Linked DNA regions of Homo sapiens: region 2 is linked to region 1. The links are contacts of gene promoters, found by promoter capture Hi-C in human tissues and cell types (Jung and others, 2019). All regions are on one chromosome and are shown on one strand. The core of a region is centred on a gene start or on the middle of the fragment in contact, and the rest is flanking DNA. Distances in the headings are between cores, read along the strand shown. Region 1 holds the start of DBNDD2 (dysbindin domain containing 2). Region 2 has its middle 16 kb from the start of WFDC8.

Evidence for each region. Contacts are between HindIII fragments. The study calls those that stand out against the background at their distance.
Region 2: a contact is called between a fragment that was not itself captured here and the fragment with the promoter of DBNDD2 in region 1, in 2 of the 25 tissues and cell types used here (liver and thymus).

What each region holds. Positions count from the first base shown.
Region 1 is chr20:45,405,451-45,411,948 of GRCh38, reverse strand. It overlaps DBNDD2 (dysbindin domain containing 2), which reads right to left and starts at 3,660. Exons shown (of 3, transcript NM_001048225.4): 1 at 3,343-3,660; 2 at 3,011-3,148; 3 at 1,342-2,017. The coding sequence starts at 3,481. The coding sequence ends at 1,809. SYS1-DBNDD2 (SYS1-DBNDD2 readthrough (NMD candidate)) reads right to left here. Exons shown (of 6, transcript NR_003189.2): 4 at 3,343-3,489; 5 at 3,011-3,148; 6 at 1,339-2,017. It overlaps LOC107985404 (a long non-coding RNA gene), which reads left to right and starts at 4,060. Exons shown (of 5, transcript XR_007067608.1): 1 at 4,060-4,200; 2 at 5,517-5,835; 3 at 6,129-6,232. It overlaps LOC107985405 (a long non-coding RNA gene), which reads left to right. Exons shown (of 2, transcript XR_001754640.2): 2 at 1-1,374. RefSeq lists an enhancer at 4,523-5,072. The HindIII fragment of the contact is 23,713 bases long and covers 1-6,498 here.
Region 2 is chr20:45,592,052-45,598,549 of GRCh38, reverse strand. No RefSeq gene overlaps it. Among named protein-coding and RNA genes, the nearest start is that of WFDC8, 16 kb to the right of the region's middle. The HindIII fragment of the contact is 3,566 bases long and covers 790-4,355 here.

The DNA.
Region 1 (6,498 bases), core at 2,411-4,910:
AAGACATCTCAAACTCAACATGTCCCAAACCAAATTTATGGCCTTCTTCTCAAACCTGGTCCTTTCTGAAACTCCCCATCTGGGTGACTAGCCCTCTGTTCCAAAAAGGATGTAAGGAGCCAGAATGGCTGGAGTACCCCCTCACTTGACATGCCAAGGAGTTCACGTCTATCTGGAGACACTGATTTGAGAGACTCTGCTGGAAGACTATAGGATGGTTGGCCAGGTGCAGTGGCTCACGCCTGTAATTCCAGCACTTCGGGAGGCCAAGGTGGGTGGATCACCTGAGGTCAGGAGTTCGAGACTAGCTTGACCAATATGGTGAAATCCCGTCTCTACTAAAAATACAAAAATTAGCCTGGCATGGTGGTGTGCGCCTGTAGTCCCAGCTACTCGGGAGGCTGAGATGTGAGAATTGCTTGAACCTGGGAGGCGGAGGTTGCAGTGTGCCGAGATCGTGCCATTGCACTCCAGCCTGGGCGAAAGAGTGTGACTTCATCTTGGGGGAAAAAAAAAGAACTTCCAAAAATTTCTTCCTAAATGGGAATAGACTGGCTGTGCCCTCTTTGCCCATCCCCCATTTCCTCTCCTGCTTTCTGCCAGTCTCAAGGTCATGATGGCTGGGGCTTTGACAGCCACCTTAGATGTGAGATATTGCTAAGAATGCAAACCATGTGCAAAAGAGCAAAAAAGGAGCCCAGTGCTGAGTAACGATGGAGCTTTCATGTAGACCTGTACTTTTTAACTTCTATATGAGGAAATAACTTTATATCTTAAGTCATGATCTTTTACTAGCTGTCAAACTGAAACCTGATCCAGGCTTCAACGGATTTTACAACCTGACCTTTGTCAGTCTTAACTCTCCCTTCATTTCCTCAAATCCAACAATTCAGCCAAACGCAATGTTTTTTAGCTCCTCAAGGATATGCTCTCTCCGTTTAAAGTCTTCACGAGCTGCTCGTTCTGCCTGGCTTACGGACTGTGCCTGGCTAACTCCCAATCGTCCTTCAGCTAAAAACAGCTCTTCAGTGACCATAGAAACTAGGTTAACATGCCCCTATTTTCTGGTACCAGAGTAGTTCCTCATCATGCTATTTATTACACTGTGAATTGTAGTATTTACTTGATTTTCTCCTCCATAAACAGTAAACTCTATGAAGGCAGGTATACAGTACAGCCTGTCTTGCTCAAAACTGTATTCCAGATGCCTAGCATGGGTGTTCCATAAACATTTCTTGAATAAATGGAATGAGTGAGTGATAGGAATATGGGATCGGTTAGAGAGCTAAAGACATGTAGTGGGTTTGATATCTTTGCAATATGAAAAATGAAGTCGAATGGTTGGCATATTATTATTAGTTTATTATTTATACCGTGCTCTGTTCCAAAAAGGATGTAAGGAGGCAGCATGGCTTGAGTACCACCTTACTTGATGAGTTAAGGAGTTCACATCCATCTAGAGACACTTGTCTGAGAGACTGTATTAGAAGACTACGGGATGGTTTAGGGGAGGGAAGAGTGCTAAGAAAAGCAGTGGCATCTTGTCCAACCTCATCTTCTCTCTCCTCATTTGCAAATCATATCTCAGGAGTAAGCCAAAAACTGGTGGGAGGGTTGCAGCAGGAAAAAATTAGCAGTAAAGCAGGAGAGGGTTAATTCTTAGAAAGGTACACAATCCCACCATCCTTCCCACCTCTGGTGCCTACTGCAAGTAAAGAGTCTGGTCTTCTCCCGACAGGCTCTGGCTGGGCCTGTGGTCTCATGTGGAGAATAGCCAGCGTGGTCAGTCTGTAGGCAGGGGCCCACTGCTAGCTGCAGGCTCCAGGCTCTGCCCCTCCATCACCCCTTTCCTCCTCTTCATCCGACTGTGCCAAGGGCGTATCTGCTCCATCATCACTTGGATTTGGGCTATGCAGGTTGGTGGAGGAGTCGGAGGAGGAGGAGGAGGAGGTCCTAGATGTGGTCCTGTCTGATGTAGGCACCGGCAGGCTCAGCTCCTCCAAATGGTTGTCCATCCCTGCCCAGAGAGAAAAGCTGGTCAGGCCACAAACAGGGCTTCAGAGAACTCTTAAAGATTATCTGGCCAGGAGTAACTAAAGTCCACAGTGGGGCAGAGACTTGTCCAAAGTGACTTTGCCAATCCAGCAAAGAGCCAGGATTAAGATCACCATCTCCTGACTGCCAGCTCCTTCCACGTCATTACACCATGTCTGGGATCTACAGTCAGGTCAATGAATGGCAAGAGTTCAAGTTCCACCTACATCACTTATTGCTGCTGAGTGGCTTTGAGCAAGTCACTTTCCCTTTCAAGGACTCTGTTCCTCCTCTGCAAAATAAAAGGGATACCTACATCCCCAAAGGGTTTTGGGAATAAAACCTAAGAATGCTTATAAAATGTCTGGCATAGTAAGCCATCAATAAATAGTAGCAGTTTTAATTAAAAGAATATCTATCTTACAAGTTAAGCATATGGGCTTTGGAGTCAGACAGACATGAATTCCAGTTTATCTACCTTCTGGCTACAATGTGACTTAACTTCTCTGAGCCTAATTTCCTGCTTATAAAATAGAGATTATATCACCTACCCTGACAGGACGTTGTAAGGATTGAGATAATATATGTAAAGTACTTTAGTACAGTATTGGAACCTACTAAAGTACTCAATACATATTAATATCATTATAATGACTAAAACTACTTAAGTTGCCAAATATAAAAATTACAATTTTACATTATTTTAATTATAGTGACTAATTATATTAATATAACAAATGTAAAATTAAAGAAGAGATTGACCGTTCCCAGAATTTTGGATTAGAGATGTGTAACCCAGTTCTCCCTCAGGGTCAACTTCCCTAAAATCAGAACAGGCAGCTGTTTCATTGGTAGAAACACCCACTTCCAGCCCTTACTTGTGTACTTCCCCAGCCCAGCCTTGTAGCCTCGTTTCAGAGCCTGACATCCGGCTCTGGCTGACTGGCACTGAAGTCCCCAAAGCAGAGGGGCATACCAGACGACTGGGGGGTTGGTGGAGGATCTTCGCAAGGCAAGAACACATCTGCTGCATCCGGGTCCCCAAGGTCAATAAGTTCTACTTGCTCCAGTGTGTCCACATTCACTTCCATGGATGAGATACTACCTATGGGGGCTGCGGATCAAGAAGTGGGCAAGTCAGGAGGACCCAAGCTGCACACCAGGACAGTGAGAGTTACATGTCAGGTCCCAAGTTAGAAGCATAGAGGGCCAAGAAAACCAGAGGGGAGAGAGTGCCACAAGATTCAGGACCCACAGGACATCCTCCCTACCCTACCCCAGTCCCTCTTCTCAGGACTTGGGACTTACGTCTCTGCGACTCGAGATGCAGATGGGACAGAGGAAAGACAAACTCTGTCTCTGGCTGTAAAATGTCCTCGAAGAATTTTTGCCGCTCCCGAAGGCGGAGCTGCTGGCGCTCCAGGGCGGCCCGAGGATTTGGGTCCATGTCAGCTCCTGCGGGTAGAGGAGCAAAACAAGTACAGCTGCAAAGTCGAAAGAGAAGACAGAGGGGACCTGGGCTTGGGGCGCCCCACTGCAGCCAGCATCCCAACAGTGGGGCCCCTGGCTCCGGCCTGGACACCTCTGCCCTTGGTGACCTCTTTCCCCTTCCCTGAAACCAAGTGTGTCCCACAAACCAAGTCTCATGCAGAGGCGGGGCTTGCCCTAAGCTCCACAAAGGGGATGCCAGTTCCAGGCACCACAAGAGAGATACTCTGTATTCAGGGAACACAGCCAATGCCCAACTCTCCATATCATGCCCTCCTGAGAGGGGTTGGAGGGATTGGTTCAGCACAAATGGAGGAGGTACGTTTTCCCCTTAATTGGCCCCGCTTGCCTCAGAAGGCCAGGGACAGGATAGGATAGAGACAGAGATCTCAGGGTGGAGGGTTCCCTTCCTCCAGTGCTGCAGCCCACCCCTTCCCATCCTTCAAAACCCAGACAAAGGCTAAAGCAACTCCTCCCGCGCCCCTCCTTTTCTCTCCACCCACACAAACACGTACACACGCATGTGCCATCTACCCCAAACCCTTGCTCTGAAGTCACAGGCCTGACTTCCAGACTAGGCTCTGCCCCTAAGGAAATCACCTTTCTGGTCTTAGTCTCCCCATCTGAAAATGGCATAACCAACCTACCTGCCTCAAATACAAGACCCTGCTTGTGAAGGTGAGCTATTTAGGAGACTACCATCTTTCCTTTGAACTCCAACAGCTCTTTATGCGTCCCCCTCCTGGGACACATCTCACTGACTTATCTCCCCATTAGTCAGTGAGGAGCAATTGGAAAGGCGGGTTCTGGGTCCAGTTCAGAGCAGGCCTCCTGACCCCTAGGGCTGAGAAGCTGAGACCCTGCCAGAGCACTGAGGCTATGGGCCAGCCCAGGTCGGTGCATTCATTCCCATTCGCTCATCTCCTTCCCGGCGTTCTGCTCTGAGCCCATCACCAGAGGCAAGGGAGTTTCTAGCTTGAGGATCAGACGTCATCCTCCGCAGACTGCCTTCCCCACCTCATCTGCACCCAGCGTATCCCAGACCCTGGCCAGCTCCACGGGCGCCACAGAGGTGGAGAGGGACCCAACCCCGACTGGCCAAGGCAGGGCCACGGAAGTCTGGGGAGACCGTGCGGCCGCGGGCTGGCGGCGGAGGAGCGAGGCGCTGACGCCGATTCCCGGGAAAGGCTCTTAGAGCTGCCGCCCAGGTCACAACGCTAAAAATACCCAGGGCCCCTGGAGCCTGTGCTCCAGCAGCGAGGAGGGGGAGGGAGAGGCCAAGGTGGGGGAGCTGACGGGGGCCAGGGGCTCTGGGACACCCCCTCTCTTTTCCCCTCCCCCTAACCCCACCGATCTCACGAGACTGAAGGAGCTGTCCCCCGGGGGGCCGCGGAGCCCAGAGCTGGAGAAAGGGAGTTGTTTACGCGACCTATAGGTACTGGAAAGGGGGTGAAGAGATTTGGGGGCAGGAGGCTGCCAGGGGCCGGGCAGGAGCCAGCGAAATGGAGAACTCCCTCTCGGTCTCAGCCCCACCCGCACTGGAGCCAGCAAGAGGGAAAAAATTCCCTAAAAAGGGACACGAGGCGTCGGCGGAGGACGGGGGGAGGGCGCTCCCCCAAGGCCGTTCCCCTCGTGCTCCGGTCCCCTCCGCGGTCCACCGCGGCACCTGCGCCCACCGCCGCCGGAGCCCCTACCTGCAGCGCTGGCGCCCCCTCTGACTCAGTCCGTCCGCTCCAGCGAGGCCGCGGCGGGGGCGTGGGAGCGAGCCGCGCCGGCCGGGGTGGGGCTGCGCCTCCAGGGCTCCCGGGGGACCGACGGGCCCTGGGAGCCGGGAACGAGGAAGAGGCGGGAGGCGGAAGTGGGGGAGGGGCGGTGGCGGGCTCACTCGCTCGCAGCTCGCCCGGCGGTCGGAGGCAGCCCCTGCGAGCGCGGCTACTGGTACTTCCAAGGCGGTCAAAAAGTTACCCGCACCCATCCTTCCTCCCTCCGCCCAGCCGGACTCCTCTGCACCACCCTCGCCACCGACGCCGGTGCGCTAGTCTCCGCTCGCTCGGATGCACTTGCTGCGCCCCCGCCCCGCGCAGACCCGCGGCGGGCGCCCGCGCCGGTTCTGCCCACGCACACTTGATGCTCTGCGCCTTTTGGGCAGCGCCCACGCAACGACTACGCACCCGAACCCTGCCTCCGGCACCCTTGGCCACACTCGCCACACTTACACGCGCGCACTTCTCCAGAGGACGCACGATGGGAAAGAGAGAGTTGGGACCCGCAGGAGGGGGCAGGGCACTGACCCGGTGCCGCCCAGCAGGGCAGGTGCAAGGCGGCGGAGGACCCCTGCCCTGGGACTCGCCCGGCTGCCCCTGATTCCTGGCTCTGGGACTAGACAGAGCCGCCGCCCAACCTACCAAGCACACTGGGCGGGGTGGGCGCCGGGCCGGCCGGGCGGGTCAGAGCTGGAAGGGTGGGCCGCTACGCCGCGCCCCCCGACGCCGGCAAGGAGCCAGCACCTCCACGGTGCTAAGAGGGGCGCTGCGCTGCTGGCCAGGCGGGGGTGGAGGGGCGAGGCGGCAACTGCGAGAGGAGAAACGTTTGCCCTCTTTTCGCAGCGTCTCCTGGCTCAGACCAGTGCTAGAAGTGTCCAGTCTAGCAGCTCCTGGACCAAGACTCCGTGGCCATTCCCTTCCTCCTGCCTTCCATCCACCCCCTTACGGTCAGAGCTCCGAAGGCAGCGTGGTGACGGGTGCGGGGAGGGGAGTGGGGGGATCTCTCTGAGATACTTCTGCCTTGGGGTCACTGGATCATTCATTCGACAAACATCCGCGAGCAAGTCAGGAACTAGGAGTCATCCTTGCCACCTCCCTCTCCCTCGCTGCCTATATTAAAATACACCTCCATTTCCTGTCGATTCTCTTTCCTAAATATCTTTCCAGTCCACCATTCCTTCCGTTTGCCCCACCACCTCCCGCCTGGGCTCCT
Region 2 (6,498 bases), core at 1,323-3,822, 190 kb before region 1:
TCTGGAGTCTAGAAGGGTTGTTAAGTTTGAAAAGGGTAGATTCTCAAGGTTCCTCAGCCTGTTGTACATACCTACCTGCCCTGACACAATCCCAACAGGTGGATTATTATTCAGGCACTTCCAAATGGATTCATATATGGATTTCTACATTGACCAGAGAGAGATGTGCCTGGACTGACAAGTAAATGGCCAAGGTTACCTGGCCTTGTGATCCATCAGTGGGAGATGGGAAAGGAAGAGAGGGAGACAGGGTTACCTCCTTGCTTCACCTGGACCCACTTCCATGGGAGAGAATATCCCAGCCTTGATATTCCAATCAAGCAGACCTAGGATTTCTGCTTCTACTACTCCATCTCCAGCACCCTTAGCTTCCCTCATTAAAGCCACGTACCTGACTCTTCTTTCTGTCCAAGAGCTTTGACTTCTTCACTGACTTCCCATCCCTGCCACTCATCACATAGCCACTTTTTCTCGACCAGGTCCCCAAAGACCTCTCCCTTCTACATGTACCCAATATCTGTAGGAAGCAACCACCCGTATATGGGCATATCCCCATAACTGATCCACAGGTGCCCTCAACTTGCTTCTCCATTTATCCTTACCCTCTTTTTTCCTTTCTTAAGACCATTCCTCTGTTTCCTCTAGTTGTCCTTAATTTCCTTCATGGAAGGATAGCCTTCAAAGTAGCAGTACTCAAAGGTACTATTACCTATTCCTCGGTTTAAGAAGTATTAGATTTGTCCTTTTTGCCTAGTTGATTTCATTTCCACTAGTGGTCATTTACTCTTTCAGGATCCACATAACCTGTAATAGGCTCATTTTAAAATTTAATAACTTCCATTAAGTAATCAACAGGAGGTTATAAAATTGCTACTGTGTGCCTGGGTTGATACCTCTCTATAGGAAAAGGGACTAGGTATTCATGCACAGATGGATAAGGTAGCTACATGCCTTTCAGCATTATAAGTTTTATAATATAGACAAGTAGAGTCCAGAGTAGAGCATGATAACAAAGCATAAGGGGACTCACAGTCAGTACCTATGAGTTAAGGGGAGAGGGTAGAGAGGAAGTTGATGGTGAGAGGTTCAGAGTAGGGTCCCTGGGGCATGCTAAATGTAAACATGGCCTTGAGAAACAGGAAAGGATTGGGGCTGGACACGGTGGCTCACATCTGTAATCCCAGCACTGTAGGAGGCTGAGGCGGGCAGACCACCTGAGGCCAGGAGTTCGAGACCAGCCTGACCAATATGGTGAAACCTCATCTTTACTAAAATACAAAAAGTAGCCAGGCGTGGTAGTGCATGCTTGTAATCCCAGCTACTTGGGAGGCTGAGGCAAGACAATCACTTGAACCTGGGAGGCGGAAGTTGCAGTGAGCGGAGATTGCGACACTGCACTCCAGCCTGGGTGGCAGCACGAGACTCCGTCTCAAAAAAAAAAAAAAAAAAAAAAAAAGAAGGAATTGGGACACTTTTGAGTGTATATATATTTTTATCCTGGAGAAAATAGACCCAGCCCAGGCTCTCTCTGGACCCTGACAGAGAGGGAAGAAGAGAAGGAATGAAATCCTGTTTTCCTACTTTGACATCATGTGCTCTGCCTGGTCCCCAGTTCTGACATCACACTGGACTGTGAACTTGGTGTTCAATTTGGAATTTCTGTACTTTCTTTTTTCCTTTTGCTCCCTCTTATAATGGATATAAAAGGTCTGGATTCTTTTCTGGAGTCTAGAATTTCCCCATAGGTTCTTGCTCTGTCTCAAGTCAGAGGATCTCTTCTATTTTCACATAGTGCCCTGAAGAGTCTTTTTAAGTCTAGGAGCCCTCCATCTGCAGTACTGTGGATTTTATCAGGAGCATTCCCCAGGGGGGGAAATATCTGTTTTGACTTCTGTGGGAACACAGGAGTTTTTTTGTAATGGATAGATGAAGGTGGGGTGGGGTGTATCCCATGGGTATAGCAGGGGTAAGCAATAGATTTATTAGTTACAACTAACAACTATTGTTCCAAGCAACAAATATTATTAATAGTTGTTCAAAGAAACACTAATCTAGGCTGGTGTGTTTCAACCCAAATAAGCAGCAGCATGGCACCTGTCTCCTGGAACTATTTTGTTCCTTGTCAGTCTGCTCCAGACACTCCTCCTTTGTGCTAAGTGCAGAGGCCAAGAATCCAGAGCATCACTCCATGCCCTATTCCTACCCTCACTCGGATCAACCTCTGCCTTATTGCTTTTGCTACCTGGGACACTGCATCATCGGAACATCACTAATGTCCCATCTGCATGGTTTGTGCCCAAACCAAGAGGAGAACAGATCAGCAGTATCTCAGATATGAGACATCCAGTGATGCTGTTGCATCAACAGAATAGTTAGGGAGCTGATCTCTGTGCCTAGGCCCTGCTGCTGGGTTTCATGCCAAGCAAAGGCAATGTTGCTTGTGTCAACAGGGACAAAATGAGAAGGGCTTTCAGAAGTCCCCCCTAACTAAGGACAATTTTCCATTATCTGAATGCCCCACAATTAAAGCTTTATTCATTAGGGTTAATTTATTTATTTTTGAGACGGAGTCTCACTCTGTCGTCCAGGCTGGAGTGCAGTGGCACGATCTCAGCTCACTGCAACCTCTACCTCCCAGGTTCAGGCAATTCTCATGCCTCAGCCTCCCAAGTAGCTGGGATTACACGTGCATGCCACCATGTCTGGCTAATTTTTGTATATTTAGTAGAGATGGGGTTTCGCCATGTTAGCCAGGTTGGTCTTCAACTCCTCACCTCAAGTGATCTGCCTGCCTTGGCCTCCCAAAGTGCTGGTTGGGGCCTCCCAGTGGGAATCTCAGTATCCCCAGCCAGGGGTTTATGGATGGGGCACTGATAACCCTGAGAGGACCTCCTAGGAGGAGGGACAGCTGTGGTATTGTGGATCAATGATCTGTCTTTTCTGCCTACTGGCTCTGGAGAGTCAGGGCAGCCCAGATGAGGGTGATTCCCCCAGTGTGGCACACCCTTCAAGGGGCAGAAACTCTGCTTATTTAAGCAGGTCTCTGACCCTGCTCCTGCTGACTAAGTGAGACCTCTCAACAGGAGTCTCCACACACCTCATGCAGGAGTGTTTCAGCTGGCGTCAGGCCAGTGCCCCTCTAAGACAGAGCTCTCAGAGGAAGGAGCAGCTTGGCATCTTTGCTGGTCTGCAGCCTCCACTGGTGATAACTCCAGGGATGGGAGGGACCCAGGCAAATAGGAACTGGAGTGGACCACAAGCAAACTGCAGCAGCCCTGCAGAAGAGGAGCCTGACTGCTAAAATAAAAGCAAACAGAATGCAACAGCATCAATGAAAAAGGCACCATAAAAAACTCCATTCAAATGTCAGCAGCCTCAAAGATCAAAGGTAGATAAACCCATGAAGATGAGAAAAAATGCTGAAAACTCAAAAAGCCAGAGTGCCTCTTCTCCTTCAGAGAGTTGCAACACCTCTCTAGCAAGGGCACAGAAATGGGCTGAGACTGAGATGGATGAATTGACAGAAGTAGGCTTAGGAAGATGGGTAATAAAGAACTTCACCAAGCTAAAGGATTATGTTCTAACTCACAGCAAAGAAGCTAAGAACTATGATAAAACATCACAGGTGCTGTTAATCAGAATCACCACTTTAGAGAGGAACATAAATGATCTGATGGAGCTGAAAAACACAACATGAGAACTTCATAATGCAAACACAAGTATCAATAGCTGAATAGACCAAGTGGAAGAAAGGATATCAGAGCTTGAAGACTATCTTGCTGAAATAAGGCAGGCAGACAAGATTAGAGAAAAAAAGAATGAAAAGGAATGAACAAAACCTCCAAGAACTATGGGACTATGTTAAAAGACTGAACCTAGAAATGATGGGGTACCTGAAAGAGACTGGGAGAATGAAACCAAGTAGGAAAATACACTTCAGTGTATCATCCAGGAAAACTCACCCAACCTAGCAAGACAGGCCAACATTCAAACTCAGGAAATCCAGAGAACCCCAGTAAAATACTCCATGAGAAGATCAGCCCTGACACATAATCATCAGATTCTACAAGGTCAAAATGAAAAAAAAAATGTTAAGGGCAGCCAGAGAGAAGGACCAGGTTACCTGTAAAGGGAAGCCCATCAGACTAACAGCAGACATCTCAGCAGAAACCCTACAAGCCAGAAGAGATCGGGGGCCAATTTTAAACACCCTTAAAGCAAATAATTTCCAACCTAGAATTTAATATTTGGCCCAGCTGAGCTTCCTAAGTGAAGGAGAAATAAAATCTTTTTCAGACAGCAAATGCTGAGGGAATTTGTCACCACCAGGTCTGCCTTCCAAGAGCTTCTGAAGGAAGCACTAAACATGGAAGGAAAAACCAATACCAGCCGCTACAAAAAACACACTGAAACACACAGATGAGTGACACTATGAAGCAAATGCATAAACAGGTCTGCAAAATAACCAACAGGCATCATGATATCAGGATACAATTCACACATAACAATATTAACTTTAAATGTAAATGGGTTAAATGCCCCCAATTTAAGGACACAGAGTGGCAAGCCAGATAGAGTCAAAATCCACCTGTGTGCTGTATTCAAGAGACTCATTATAATAAAAAAGAAAATAATCAAAATCCCAAAAATAAAAATACAATGATAAAAATAAAATAATCAGTGTATGCTATTTAGAGAAGCCTGGACCCAGCTGAAGAGAGGTTGATCAAACTGAAAGATAAGTTAGCAGAACATATCCAGACTAAAACAGGGAGAGGAAAATAATACTAGAAAGTATAGAAAAGAATGAATGTGACATATAGCATATAGTGAGAGAACTAACATATGTGTAATTGGAGATGCAGAAGGAGAAGAAAGACAGAATAGAGCAAAGAAAGGGAAAATGGCTGAGAATTTGGTAAACTGATATAAGACATCAAGCTACATATTAAAGAAGCCGCCTGAGACCAGTGAACACCTAGGCACATCACAGTAAAACCATATGTAGGTATATCTGTTTTAATTTTACTTGAAGCCAAAGCAAAGAGAAAAATCTTAAAATCTGACAGAAAAAAAGACATGCCTTTTTAAGAATAACAGTAATACTGATAGCTGTCTTCCCAATGGAAATAATGAAAGGGAGAAGACAATGGAATGATATCTTCAACTTGCTGATGGAAAATAATGCTAACCTAGAATTCTATACCTAAGAAAAAAATCTTTCAAAAATAAGACCAGAACTAAGGTATTTTCAGAGAAAGACTGAGAAAATTCATCACCAGCACTTTCACATGGAAAGAAATATCAGGCCAGGCACAGTGGCTCACACCTGCAATCCCAGCACTTTGGGAGGCCAAGGAGGGTGTATCACTTGAGGTCAGGAGTTCAAGACCAGCCTGGCCAACATGGTGAAACCTCGTCTCTACTAAAAATACAAAAATTAGCTAGGTGTGGTGGCACATGCTTGTAGTCCCAGCTACATGGGAGGATGAGGCAGGAGAATTGCTTGAACCCAGGAGATGGAGGTTGCAGTGAGCCAGGATCACGCCACTGCTCTCCAGCCTGGGTGAGTGAGACTCTATCTCAAAAAAAAAAAAAAAGAAAAGAAAAGAAATGAAATATCAGAGATTTATGCAGGCAAATGATGAACAAGAAAATGGAAGAAGGAATGAAGAAAAACAGAAAGGGAAAATATGTGGGTAAATCTAATCTGTGGTTCCCAAGTCAGGACAATTGTGCCCACTAGGGGACATTTGGCAATGTTTGAAGACATTTTTAATTGTCACAACTTGGGGGTTGGTGCTACTGACATCTAGTGGATAGAGACCAAGGATGCTGCTAAACATCCGTAATGCGTGGAACAGCCTTTTACAACAAATAATTATATGGCCCAAAACATCAACAGGGCCAAAACCGAGATATCTTTATTTAAGTTACTATTGATTATACAGTCAATAGTAATTTCCATGGAATTTAGATTTATGTAGAATTATGGTACATTAAAAAAAAACACAAAAGATGTGAGTACTTGGAGGTAAAATGTTTGAAAATTTTTGCATTGCCTGGGATGCAAATTTTATTTTATACCCTAATAAGTCCAAGATGAATTTTGTAATGTAAGAGAATAACTAACTAACAAGTCAATGAGGGGGGCAGTGTTAATGAAATTATAGGAAAAAAGCTTGATTAATCCAAAGTGCAAGAAGGATAAAAAGAAAAATAGAACAGCTGTTGGACAATAGAAATTGCATAGTAATTGGTTGATACAAACCCAAATATATCATTTATTGCATTAAATACAAACAGACCTAATATTACAAATAAAAGACAAAGACTGTCAGAGTGAATAAACAAAACGAATGCAGCTTAAGACATCTATCTTAAATATAAGGTTTGAAAGATCTACCTTAAGGTTTGAAAGTTGAAGGATGTAAGCAAGTATACTATGCAAATGCTAACAAAAGACTGTGAGTATGAATATGTTAATATCAGACAAAG